Linked DNA regions of Homo sapiens: all the other regions are linked to region 2. Evidence: promoter capture Hi-C in human tissues and cell types (Jung and others, 2019). All regions are on one chromosome and are shown on one strand. The core of a region is centred on a gene start or on the middle of the fragment in contact, and the rest is flanking DNA. Distances in the headings are between cores, read along the strand shown. Region 1 holds the start of TRIM67 (tripartite motif containing 67). Region 2 holds the start of C1orf198 (chromosome 1 open reading frame 198). Region 3 overlaps EXOC8 (exocyst complex component 8).

What was found. The method cuts DNA at HindIII sites, captures the fragments that hold promoters and counts their contacts. A contact is called where the count stands out against the background at its distance.
Region 1: a contact is called between the fragment with the promoter of TRIM67 here and the fragment with the promoter of C1orf198 in region 2, in 1 of the 25 tissues and cell types used here (ovary).
Region 3: a contact is called between a fragment that was not itself captured here and the fragment with the promoter of C1orf198 in region 2, in 1 of the 25 tissues and cell types used here (psoas muscle).

What each region holds. Positions count from the first base shown.
Region 1 is chr1:231,159,926-231,163,328 of GRCh38, forward strand. It overlaps TRIM67 (tripartite motif containing 67), which reads left to right and starts at 2,133. Exons shown (of 10, transcript NM_001004342.5): 1 at 2,133-3,403. The coding sequence starts at 3,045. RefSeq lists a silencer at 2,175-2,490 and an enhancer at 2,399-3,033. The HindIII fragment of the contact is 24,635 bases long and covers 1-3,403 here.
Region 2 is chr1:230,867,261-230,870,945 of GRCh38, forward strand. It overlaps C1orf198 (chromosome 1 open reading frame 198), which reads right to left and starts at 1,261. Exons shown (of 4, transcript NM_032800.3): 1 at 920-1,261. The coding sequence starts at 1,252. RefSeq lists a silencer at 1,190-1,409 and an enhancer at 1,233-1,824. The HindIII fragment of the contact is 20,091 bases long and covers 1-3,685 here.
Region 3 is chr1:231,330,705-231,334,301 of GRCh38, forward strand. It overlaps EXOC8 (exocyst complex component 8), which reads right to left. Exons shown (of 1, transcript NM_175876.5): 1 at 2,049-3,597. Among named protein-coding and RNA genes, the nearest start is that of EXOC8, 5.3 kb to the right of the region's middle. The HindIII fragment of the contact is 5,987 bases long and covers 1-3,597 here.

The sequences.
Region 1 (3,403 bases), core at 883-3,382, 290 kb after region 2:
AACTACACTCAGTCTGAGTGGAGGAGTGCTTGAACTGTAAGTCCTTCTGTACAGGAAAGGAGTTACACACCCCTCCAGGAGGCCACCCCTACCCCCAAGCAGTTTGTTTTGGTCCGAAAATGACAAAGGAGACTGGACTTCAGCCATATGGCTGCTGGTTTGGGGCAGACCTGTTCACAGTAGAACCATAAGAGGTTATGACTTCCCTTGTGGTCACCAGGAGGCTGGGCTGAGCCGGCGTAAATGATGGCACTTGCTAGGGTCACAGAAATGCATCTTTAAGTGCATTCAATTACAGACCTACCCATACACTGCGTTTCTGACATGACCCTGAAGATTCCATAGCACATTTCTGGAAGGCTTATCTGAGAGTTGCAGGCAGGATCCAGCTCATTGTGGCTTTATCTACACAAGGCAGATGAGGACAAGGTTGTTACCATCTCCCATCTGTGGCTACTGATGCCTGGTTAAATAATTGTTCCAAGTCCCCTAGCTGAGGGGAAGTAGAGTCAGGTCTCTTAATGCTGTGCGATGCTCTATCTGGCCTTAGCTTGGCCTACTCTTCAACTTTGGCACAAACTGGAAGCAAGCTGCAAAGCCGGACTAAAGGTTCATAGGATTTTAAAACAGAGCCTGGCGTGGTGGCACAGGCCTGTAGTCCCAGCTACTTGGGAGGCTGAGGTAGGAGGATTGCTTGAGTCCAGGAGTTCGAGGCTGTAGTGAGCTATGATCACGCCACTGCACTCCAGCCTGGGCGACCCAGAGAGACTCCAACCGCCGCCCCCACAACAAAAACAGAAAGTAGGAAACGCCGTCTGTATTTGCAACTAGCTCGTTTAGTTCTCAGACATGAGTATTATGACAATATTCATTTGGCATTTCAGGATCCGAGCGAGGGAAAGCCTAAGCGAGCTGCTGAGTGGGGCCAGTGGTCCCGGGGCGTCCTGACTTCCAAGGCTCTGGGCCTTCGTGCTGCGGCCAGGAGCGCGTCGCCAAGCGCCTCCCCAAGGGTCCCCCTGCAGGGGTTCCTGTCCCCTAGGCACAGAGCCCCAAGCCCTGGGCGCAGGCTGCAGCTTCCCCCTGCCTGACCCCGCCAGCCTGCGCCTCCTCACCCGGGGACTAGCAGAAGCCTGGGCCCGCGCCTGGCGCTACGACTCCGGTCTTTAGTCTTTGTTTGGAGCACGGGAGAACCTGGGACGGAGGGAGGCATGACTTCAATATTCATATCGTTGTTAAATAAACGATTTCCTAATTTGTATCTGTTTCATGCCAGCGTGAAACTTCTGTAGGCAGAGCCGGCTGCGCTGCCAGCACTTTCTTCTGCTCGTCCCCACCCACCTCTGCCTCCCCCACCCAGCCTTCCCTCGGCAGCAGCGGGGAAGAACAGCCGAGCAGACCAAACAGCCGGGGCCGCGGGTGGGAGGCTGTTCCCGCAGCTCGTGGCTGGCGTTGGAGAATGTGGAGATTTTCCCATTCATAAAAGGAACGTCTCCGCTTGCCGCCTTCCCGTCCGCCGCACACCGCCACATCCGCAGCGGGGTAGGGCTGGGTCTGGGGGCGCTGGGTTCCCAGGGGTCTACCCGGGCGCGCTCTCGCCTTTCTCAGGAAACCCCATTTTGTGAGCGGCACCGCGTGTCCTCTCTCAGTCCGTGCACACAGTTGACCTGGAGCGCGGATGAGCACCCTTGGTTGAAAGGAAGAGACAAAATGGCTTGTGGTTCAATTCATAAATAAAACCTCACCCTTGGACTTCAGGCTGCCCGACATTTTGGGACTTGGATTTTTTTGCTTTATCGTAGTTTTAGGAAGCGACTGTCAGGCCATGTTGCCTATCCATTTCTAAACGACTGGCTTTTTAGGATCCCGTTTTCACCCTTCTATGGCGGTGGGTTGGGGGTGGGGTGTGGAACTGGAGTGGCCCAGGGAGACGATGGCAGGGGCGGGGCGGGGCAGGTCGTTGTACTGATTCAAGATACAATCTCCATCCAAATAATGGATTGTTATTAACAATGATCCTCCCTGCAAAACCCTTAAAATTGCCCCTTGATTCCCTAGCAGCAAGAGGCGAGCCCTTATTCGCTGAGCTGAAGCCTCCTCCCCCCTCCTCCCCATTACTCTCTGCTCTGGAAATTACAACTCCTCGGCGCGCCGCGCGGGGAGGCAGCGGCAGCGGCGGGAGGGAGGCGGGGAGGGGATTCCCGAGCCAGCCGGACGCTCGCCCTCCGCCCGCCGGCTGCAGCGTCGCGCGGCCCAAGGTCAGAGGCGCCGCAGGAGCAGCAGCTGGGAACCAGGGAAGCGGGTCAATCCCGGCCGCAGGGAGAAAGCCCCAGGGCGCAGTCAGCCGGCGTCCACAGCCGCCCAGGAGTAGGGTGAGCGGCTGTCTCCGGGCCGGTCGGGTCCCGCCGAGGTGGCCGCGGCCCCAGCGACCCGGCGGGTGGCGGCCCAGGGGTCGGCGAGCAGGCAGCTGGAGCCCCACCTTCGGCTCCCGGGCGCTGTCCGCCGCCTCGTGGTGCTGATCCCAGCCCCACGGCTGAGCGGCCTTCGCACCTGCCTGTCTCACCTCGCTATCACCCCGATAAGGAGTTGGGCCGGGGCAGAAGGGGGGCCTCGGGGTAGCCGCCCACCGGAGCCAGGGGCTGAAGCAGCGAGCGCACAGCAGCCCGGCCGCTGGTCCTGGGGTGGAGAGGAGGCGCGCGCTGCAGCCGGCGGCGGCGCTGGTGCTGATTCATCACCTAAAGCTCCTCGCAGGCCACCGCGAGGGCAGCCGACCGGCTCCGGAATCTGGCCGCAGGTTGAAGCCGCTGGTGCGGGACCCTCGGGCAGGAGGTGAGGACCCCCTCCCTTCTCTCGCCCCTCAATCATCTTAGGGCGGTGGCTACAGGACAGAGAGAGGGGCGTGCCCCTCGGCTGTGAAGTGGGCATGCCCGTGTGATGCCCCCGCCCGTCGTCTCACCGGGGCGCACCGCGCTGGTCCTCCTCCGCCAGTCTCCCGAGCTCCGGCCATTCATCCCCAGCGCAGAGCAGCGCTGGCAGCCGGCGCCGCGATGGAGGAAGAGCTGAAGTGTCCCGTGTGCGGCTCTCTGTTTCGGGAGCCTATCATCCTGCCCTGTTCCCACAATGTCTGCCTGCCTTGCGCTCGCACCATCGCGGTGCAGACCCCGGACGGTGAGCAGCACCTGCCCCAGCCGCTCCTGCTTTCCCGGGGATCGGGGCTGCAGGCGGGCGCCGCCGCCGCTGCCTCTCTGGAGCACGACGCTGCGGCTGGCCCGGCCTGCGGCGGTGCAGGCGGGAGTGCAGCTGGCGGCCTCGGCGGCGGTGCGGGAGGTGGCGGAGACCACGCGGACAAGCTCAGCTTGTACAGCGAGACAGACAGCGGCTACGGGTCCTACACCCCGAGCCTCAA
Region 2 (3,685 bases), core at 11-2,510:
ACAGGCTTCGGTTAAACACATTTCTAAGAAAAAGAAGACCAAGTTTCTGAACCCTACAGAAGATTCAGGCGTTTGTGACTAAGTGTGGGTCATCCCTGAGCTTTTTCTGGAACAGATTCAGCGTTTCTACCTTCACAAATGACTGTCCCTCTAGCAGTCTGGACAGTGTCTAGATCTGAGACCTAAACATGCCCTGTTATGTGGCCAAGACTTACTGGAGCTCATTTAAACTTATCGTCCCTTAGTTTTTTGGTGGAAAACAGGGCCACCATGCTCACCCTTAAAACATACGCTGGGCATTGTGCTCACTTGGAAAACATCTTAGGGTGATGGATGGGTTTCCCTCCTTATCTTGGAAGACACCTTTTCTTCCTTGTTACCTGGCTTGGCAATTTTACTTTCCCCATACATCTCATCACAAGTATTCATGTTAGTATATATCATTTGCTCAGTCCCTTCACGGGCAGGCACGGGGTGGCGTTATTACCCCCGTTTTACACAGTGGAAACTGAGGCTCTAAGAAGTTAATTGACCCACCGCCATACAGGTAGTAAGTAGCAGAGCTGGATTAAAACCCAGGCTTGTCTGGTTTAAAATTGCTTGTTGTTTCCACTTTGGTCAGCCTCGCTTACGACAGCTCCGGGAGAAGTCTCTGGAGTCCGTGCGAGCCGGCGGATCAGGTCTAGATGGAGGTTCTTTAACGACCCACCTCTCGGCGATCTCTTAACCAACTCCCCCAGCGGAGCCCCCACCCCCCGAACTTCGGCTCTGGGGCTCCCCTCCCACCCACTGCCATTCCTGCCTTTTCTTTTCCAGCCCCTACCAGCTGGGGCGGCCTCACGCCGGCAGGTGCCCACCGGGCCGGGGCGCCTCGGGGCGCCGGGAGGGGAAGAGGGTCCGCGGCCAGGCCCGCACCTACCTCGTCCCCGAAGCGCACCACCTTCTGGCCCGTGGGCCCGCGCAAGCCGGGGAAGCGCGTGAGCTCCTCCGAGTCCCCGGGGTCTCGGGGCGCCGGGGCGCGCGGCCCCACCAGGCACCGGTCGATGATCTCGTCCTGCTGCGCGGGCGGCAGCCGCGCCCACTCGGGCCCGTACTTCTCGCGGATCTTCTCCTTGTCCTGCATGATCTTCCTGGCCATGGGGCTCAGCGACGAGAAGTAAGTGAAGCGCTTTCGCTCCCGGTCGTCCAGAGGCCGGTTCCCGCTCATGACCGCCGAGCGCGAAGCCGCGATCGCCGCCGCCATGGACGCCATGCCCGGCCTGCCCGCCGCTCCCGGCCCGCGCCCCGCCCCTCGCTGTGCCCGCCCTCGCCCCGCCCCGCGCCACCCGGAGCCCCGCCCCCTCCGGGAACCCCGCCCTGCACCGCCGCGTACCCGGGTCTCCAAGCCAACCCAGCTCCCCAAGCCCCGGGACCCCGGCCCTCCGTGGCCCCCTCCCCGGGAGCTCCTCCCTCCGGGCCCCCCCCCGCCACCCCCTCGCGGACCCCACGAGTCCCCCTTTACGCCTCCATAGTGGATTACCGCGGTGCCCGCAGGTTTCGGGCTCCCCTTACCCGGCTCAGGTGGTAGCCGGCGTGTCCCTGAGTCCGCGCCCGGCGCTCTGAGAGGGTGGCCGTGGTTAATTCCCGGTAGTGACCGCCATAGCGCCACGTGGCCACTGCTTGACAAAGGAAACTTTTTTCAACCTCCAGTGAGCCTAAGAAAGCCCCAGCATTTCAGGCCAAGCCGCTGGCTGCCTGGCTTCTGTTTTTACTCCTTTCCTTCTGTCCCTTTCTGGGACGAGCCACACCTTCTCTGCTTTCTCTGGGCCCGTCCAGGACGCTGGGCCCGGGGCCTGGCGCGGTGAGCTGCAGATAGCCGGGGGCGCAGGGCAGCCCGGAGGCTGGAGGGCGACCTGGAAGGCTGGACCGGTTCGGGGCATCTGGTGCTCAAGGAAAGTCAGCTCCCGCCGCCCCTCGGGGCCAGGTGGGTGCATGAAGTACCCGGTGGCCCAGGTGCCTTTCCCCAACCCAAGGAGCTCAGAACTCTTGGCAGTTCGACGTTTGCAAACAAACCAAAGAGGAGCAGAAAGTTTTCAGACTCAGAGGCGACATCCCAACAGGTAGGGGGCCAGGGTTTGTAATTTTGAGGTGTGTCCCAGACAGACCACAAAATTAAAATTATAGCGAGCCCCCACTTCCCCCAAGCCCCTCTCTCCATCTGACTGATTTTAACAAGACTAACAGGACTCAGGTGAGAATTGTGTCCACTCGTAAAATAAAAAAACAAAAACAAAAACCAGCATTTCAGCTGTTATCCAGGGTCTTTGCCTGGATAGTTCTGAACACAAAAGTAGAAATAACTTGCAAAGTCCTATTTTAAATGTGAGATGGCCTCATCTTCCGGCCCAGAAATCCTCAGAATATTTTTGGAATGTCATGAATGTGGCAGGCTCTACAGTTAAAGACATTATTATCAACAATGTTCACAACATAATATATTGAAGCAGGGAAAGGCAAGCACCACCAAATATAGTCTCCACAGTAAGTGGCGGATTATTTATGAGACCGGAAGTTTAAGGACAGTTTTTTGGAGTATGATCTTCTGTTTGAGTTGATGCTAGAGAAGCTCAATACATTGACCTGAATCCCACTGATTTCTCTCCTCTAATCCTTGTTTAATAATATAGGTAATGTTTAAAGATATATTCTTGAAATTAATTAACATCCCCAGGCTTGCTTTGATATTCACATAAGAAGCTGTCCGTACCCTTAGAAACTTGGTCTCATGCTGTTTTCAAAGCAGTTGTGGAAATAATTGTTGCTTTCAAAAAAAAAAAAACCACAACCCCATGAGGTGTTTTGGGTCTGGCAATAATTGATTGTCAAAGAAGTTTTCAAGATAATAAAAGCGTGAGATAATTCAGGGACATTGGCCAAAGTATGTAAAGTCCATGATCTGGATGATAAGGGGCTAACTGAAAGAAAAATTCTTCCAGATTATAAGAAGAAACTCAGGGGAATTAAAGTATGGCTCTAACAGATGACTTGGCTGAAATTAGAAACTTTTTTTTTTACATATATCTTTATCTACTCCTGGAGGGAATAAAAATAGCCAAACTCCGGCCGGGCACGGTGGCTCACGCCTATAATCCCAACAGTTTGGGAGGCCGAGGCGGGTGGATCATGAGGTCAGGAGATCGAGACCACCCTGCCTAACATGGTGAAACCCCGTCTCTACTAAAAATACAAAAATTAGCTGGGCGTGGTGGCACGTGCCTGTAATCCCAGCTACTCGGGAGGCTGAGGCAGGAGAATCACTTGAACCAGGGACTCGGAGGTTGCAGTGAGCCAAGATCGCGCCACAACACTCTAGCCTGGGCGACAGAGGGAGACTCTGTCTAAAAAAAAAAAAAAAGAAAGAAAGAAAAAAAGAAAAAAAGCCAAACTCCAAATATGTAATTAGGTTACATGGTCTGAATGTTTATATCCCCCCAAAATTCATATGTTGAAATGCTAACTGGTAAGATGATGTGGGGCCTTTGGGGAGATGGTTAGGTCAGGAGGGCAAAGCCCTCATGAGTGGGACTGGTGCCCCTGTAAGAGACTCAAGGGAGCTCACTTGCCCCATCCACCGTGTGACCTTACAGCAAGAAGGTGCCATCAAAAGGCACAACCTATGAGCCAGGAAGCAGAACCAGACACCAAG
Region 3 (3,597 bases), core at 285-2,784, 460 kb after region 2:
CAAACCAACCAACAAACAAAAATGAGAACAACCTAGAAGCTATTTTTTCACAGAGAAGATTAGTAACAATGAATATTATTACTAATAAGATGACTTTTTTTTGAGACAGGGTCTCGCTCTGTCCCCCAGGCTAGAGTGCAGTGGTGCTGTCATGGCTCACTACAGCCTCAACCTCCTGGGCTCAAGCAATCCTCCTGCCTCAGCCTCCCGAGTAGCTGGGACTTACAGGTGTGCGCCACCACGCCCGGCTAATTTTTCTATTTTTTGTAAAGACGGGGGTCTACCTATGCTATTCAGGCTGGTCTCGAACTCCTGGGCTTAAGCAATCCACTCTCCTTAGCCTGCCAAAGTGTTGGGATTACAGACTTGAGCCACTGTGCTTGGCAAGGCTACTCTTAATTAAACAGTGAATGAATACAGGTTTATAAGCATTCATGTAAACAGGTATTTTCCTATACTGTTGGAGAGAACTTAAAAATGATATAACCCTCCTGATGAGCAACTGGTAATGCTTAAATTTAAAATGTAATTTGGCAGAGCAATTTCTAAAAATACATCCCATAGATATATTCGCATAAGCGAATAGGAGGATGTGCATAGGTTTTCAGAATTTTTTTTTTGTAATCAACAAAACTTGAAGCCAACCAAGTAATTGGAAAATGCAAAATTATGATATATTCATTCACTGTGATTGACAACTACCCAATCACAGAAGAAAAACCCAGTGGGGTACAGCAAGAGGTACTGATACGAGATGTCTTAAAACACTGAACTGCTAAGTGACTAAAATCAAGATGCAGAACTGTATGCAGAGTATGATACAATTTCTGGAAAAATATGTACATGAAATTCTTACTAGTAGTTACCTCTAGTGAATGGGATTGTTGGGGGGATGAGGACTTTTATTTTTTACTTTAACTCTTCTGCACATTGCATATGGATTGAAGCTTGCTTTGTAGGCAAATGTGGCTTATTTACGCTTTTCCAAACTCTGCAATTCATCCAGGAAGGTCTCTTCATATGACACCCACATTCCCACTTCTGTGCCTTGGGCTCAGGTCCTACTCTTCCATTTTCTTTGCACATTTAAGTCTTGTCCATTCTTCAAGGACCCGCTCAAATGCCAACAATTCCATGAGAACTTTCTAAACTCCTTAAAAGTACACTGCTCTCTTCCTTCTTGGTATTTCCACTGTACACAGCTGTGCATTTGATTATTCTCTCACTTATATTTGTTGACTTTTTCCAATTTCTAAGCATCTTAAGAGGACGAAGTATGTTTAAAATTATTAAAATTCTTCTGCACTCCCACATTACAGTCAATATGAAGCATAGCATTCAATACTTTTAAATATGTGATAGTTTCCTCAGGATATACATATTACTTTCAAAAGGGCAAGCCTGGCCGGGCATGGTGGCTCACGCCTGTAATCTCAGCACTTTGGGAGGCCGAGGCGGGTGGATCACCTGAGATCAGGAGTTCGAGACCAGCCTGGCCAACATGTTGAAACCCCATCTCTACTAAAAATAAAAAAATTAGCCGGGCATGGTGGCGGGCCCCTGTAATCCCAGCTACTCAGGAGGCTGAGACAGGAGAATGGCTTGAACCCAGGAGGCAGAGATTGTAGCGAGCAGAGATCACGCCACTGCACTCCAGCTTGGGCGATATGGGAAGACTCTGTCTCAAAAAAAAAAAAAAAGGCCAAGCCTTGTCATTTAGTTCCTAGGTCTTGTGGCCTACATTTTATTTTCTTTATTTAGAGATGTGCAGATGGTATAAAATCTACTTTTTTATAATAAATTCACATTTTGTACCTCTGAAATTTTCCATTCGAGGGAATTTTAAAAAATTGAGATCTGATTTATTCACAATTCTGACGGTAAGCAGAACACTTACTTAATTTAGCAAACAGCTTCCTAAGTATCCTCCCCACATAAATAAAACAAAAAACTAGGGTCTTCAAAGAATATTTCAGTAACAAGAATATAAAAATATTGAATACCAACTAAAGAAGAGCAATAGATATAATATCTTAATATCACTTTTATCCAGTGTAAGACAATTTTTAAGCTTTATTTTTATGAAACATTTCAGATTCCCTCATATCACAGCACATCAATAAGCAGTATGTACATAGACTGACTTTTATAGTACATGTCATGTCCCAAATTCCCAATCCTAGGTAAGATATCAAGTTACAAAATACAAGTGCCGATAATTAAACTATAGGTAGTATATTAAACAAAAATGAGTTTTTAGCAATTATGTGAAATAAGGCTTTAACCAAAGCAAGACTTAATGCCACAAGGTGTCTTTTTTCCCCAAGAGTAATTAATTCAATCAAGCCCATGATTCCAAGCTCAAGTAACAAGTTTTATATTCTTGAAGCAAACAAGAAAAGGCAATCAATGCTTAAGTGGTATATTTTAGTATATATTACATTTCTGGACAATCTCTCATTGCATTCAATTTTTAGAACTTGTCTTGGGTCTAATAAAACAGAAGAATTAGAGAAGAAAGCCCATGCCACTTTGAGGAATGTAACATAATTGTTTTGTCTGGGTACAAAGGTACGTTACAACACTGGGGGTCTTTAGTCAAGTTCCCATACTAATTGACTCACCAAAGCATACTTCCTTCAGCTACAACTGTAATTGGAACACACAGATTTTACCTGAAGAAAATCCTGTACTTCCAGTTTTAAAAAGCAGACAATTCTATGAAGAAGCAACCATTTAAATATCTAACTATACACATTCAAGTTTTTACAACTTCATGCCTTATGAGGAATTTTGATTTCAGAAGTATCATTCCACAGACTCAGCATCATATATTTATACATATTTCATACAGTATAGTATTAGAAACTGTAAATGGCACAGAATAATCATAATTATCACAAAATTTTATCAATTTCCAGTGATCTTAAAAAGACAAATTATAACCGCCTTTGCTCAGCTAAGATATCCAGTTATGGTTACAACTTTCGAAAATCCTAAAGTTATGTGAAAAAAATTAGTCAAAGAAAATCTGTAAATCTGATACTTTCCAATATTTTAAATATGCACAGCTAAAGAGAAAATAAAGGGGTTGATCTGGCACATGAATAATTAAGTCAATGAATTTTACAACCCTGAGCCACTTTGGCAACTACTTTAGGTTTCACATAATTTTCACAGTCTTAGTACCACCATTTTCATTCAGATAAAAGAAATGACCTTTTGAAATCATGGGCATCAAATTTGGTGCTTATGGACAAGAATCACAACTAGAAGCTAGAGACAAAATGGATCACAGCAAGCACAGTTTCCCTCAAAGAATAAGGAACGCTATAGAATATACAACAGCGATAGTTTAGAAACCTTGGGAAGCTCACATTTCTTTAGTTATTTTGTTTTACTAAACAATTTGAAGTAAGCATTATATTCATGTTTAAAAACAAAGCAAGGAAAAATAAAAAATGAAACAAAAATGCAGCATGGAACATTTTAGGAGTCACAGAAGGTTCTCTTCTTCCCTTTGTTTTGGGCACATTGTCTCACCTGTTTTCACTTTGTTACAAAAGGAAACAAAACCAAATCTCTGCTCAGAGTGGT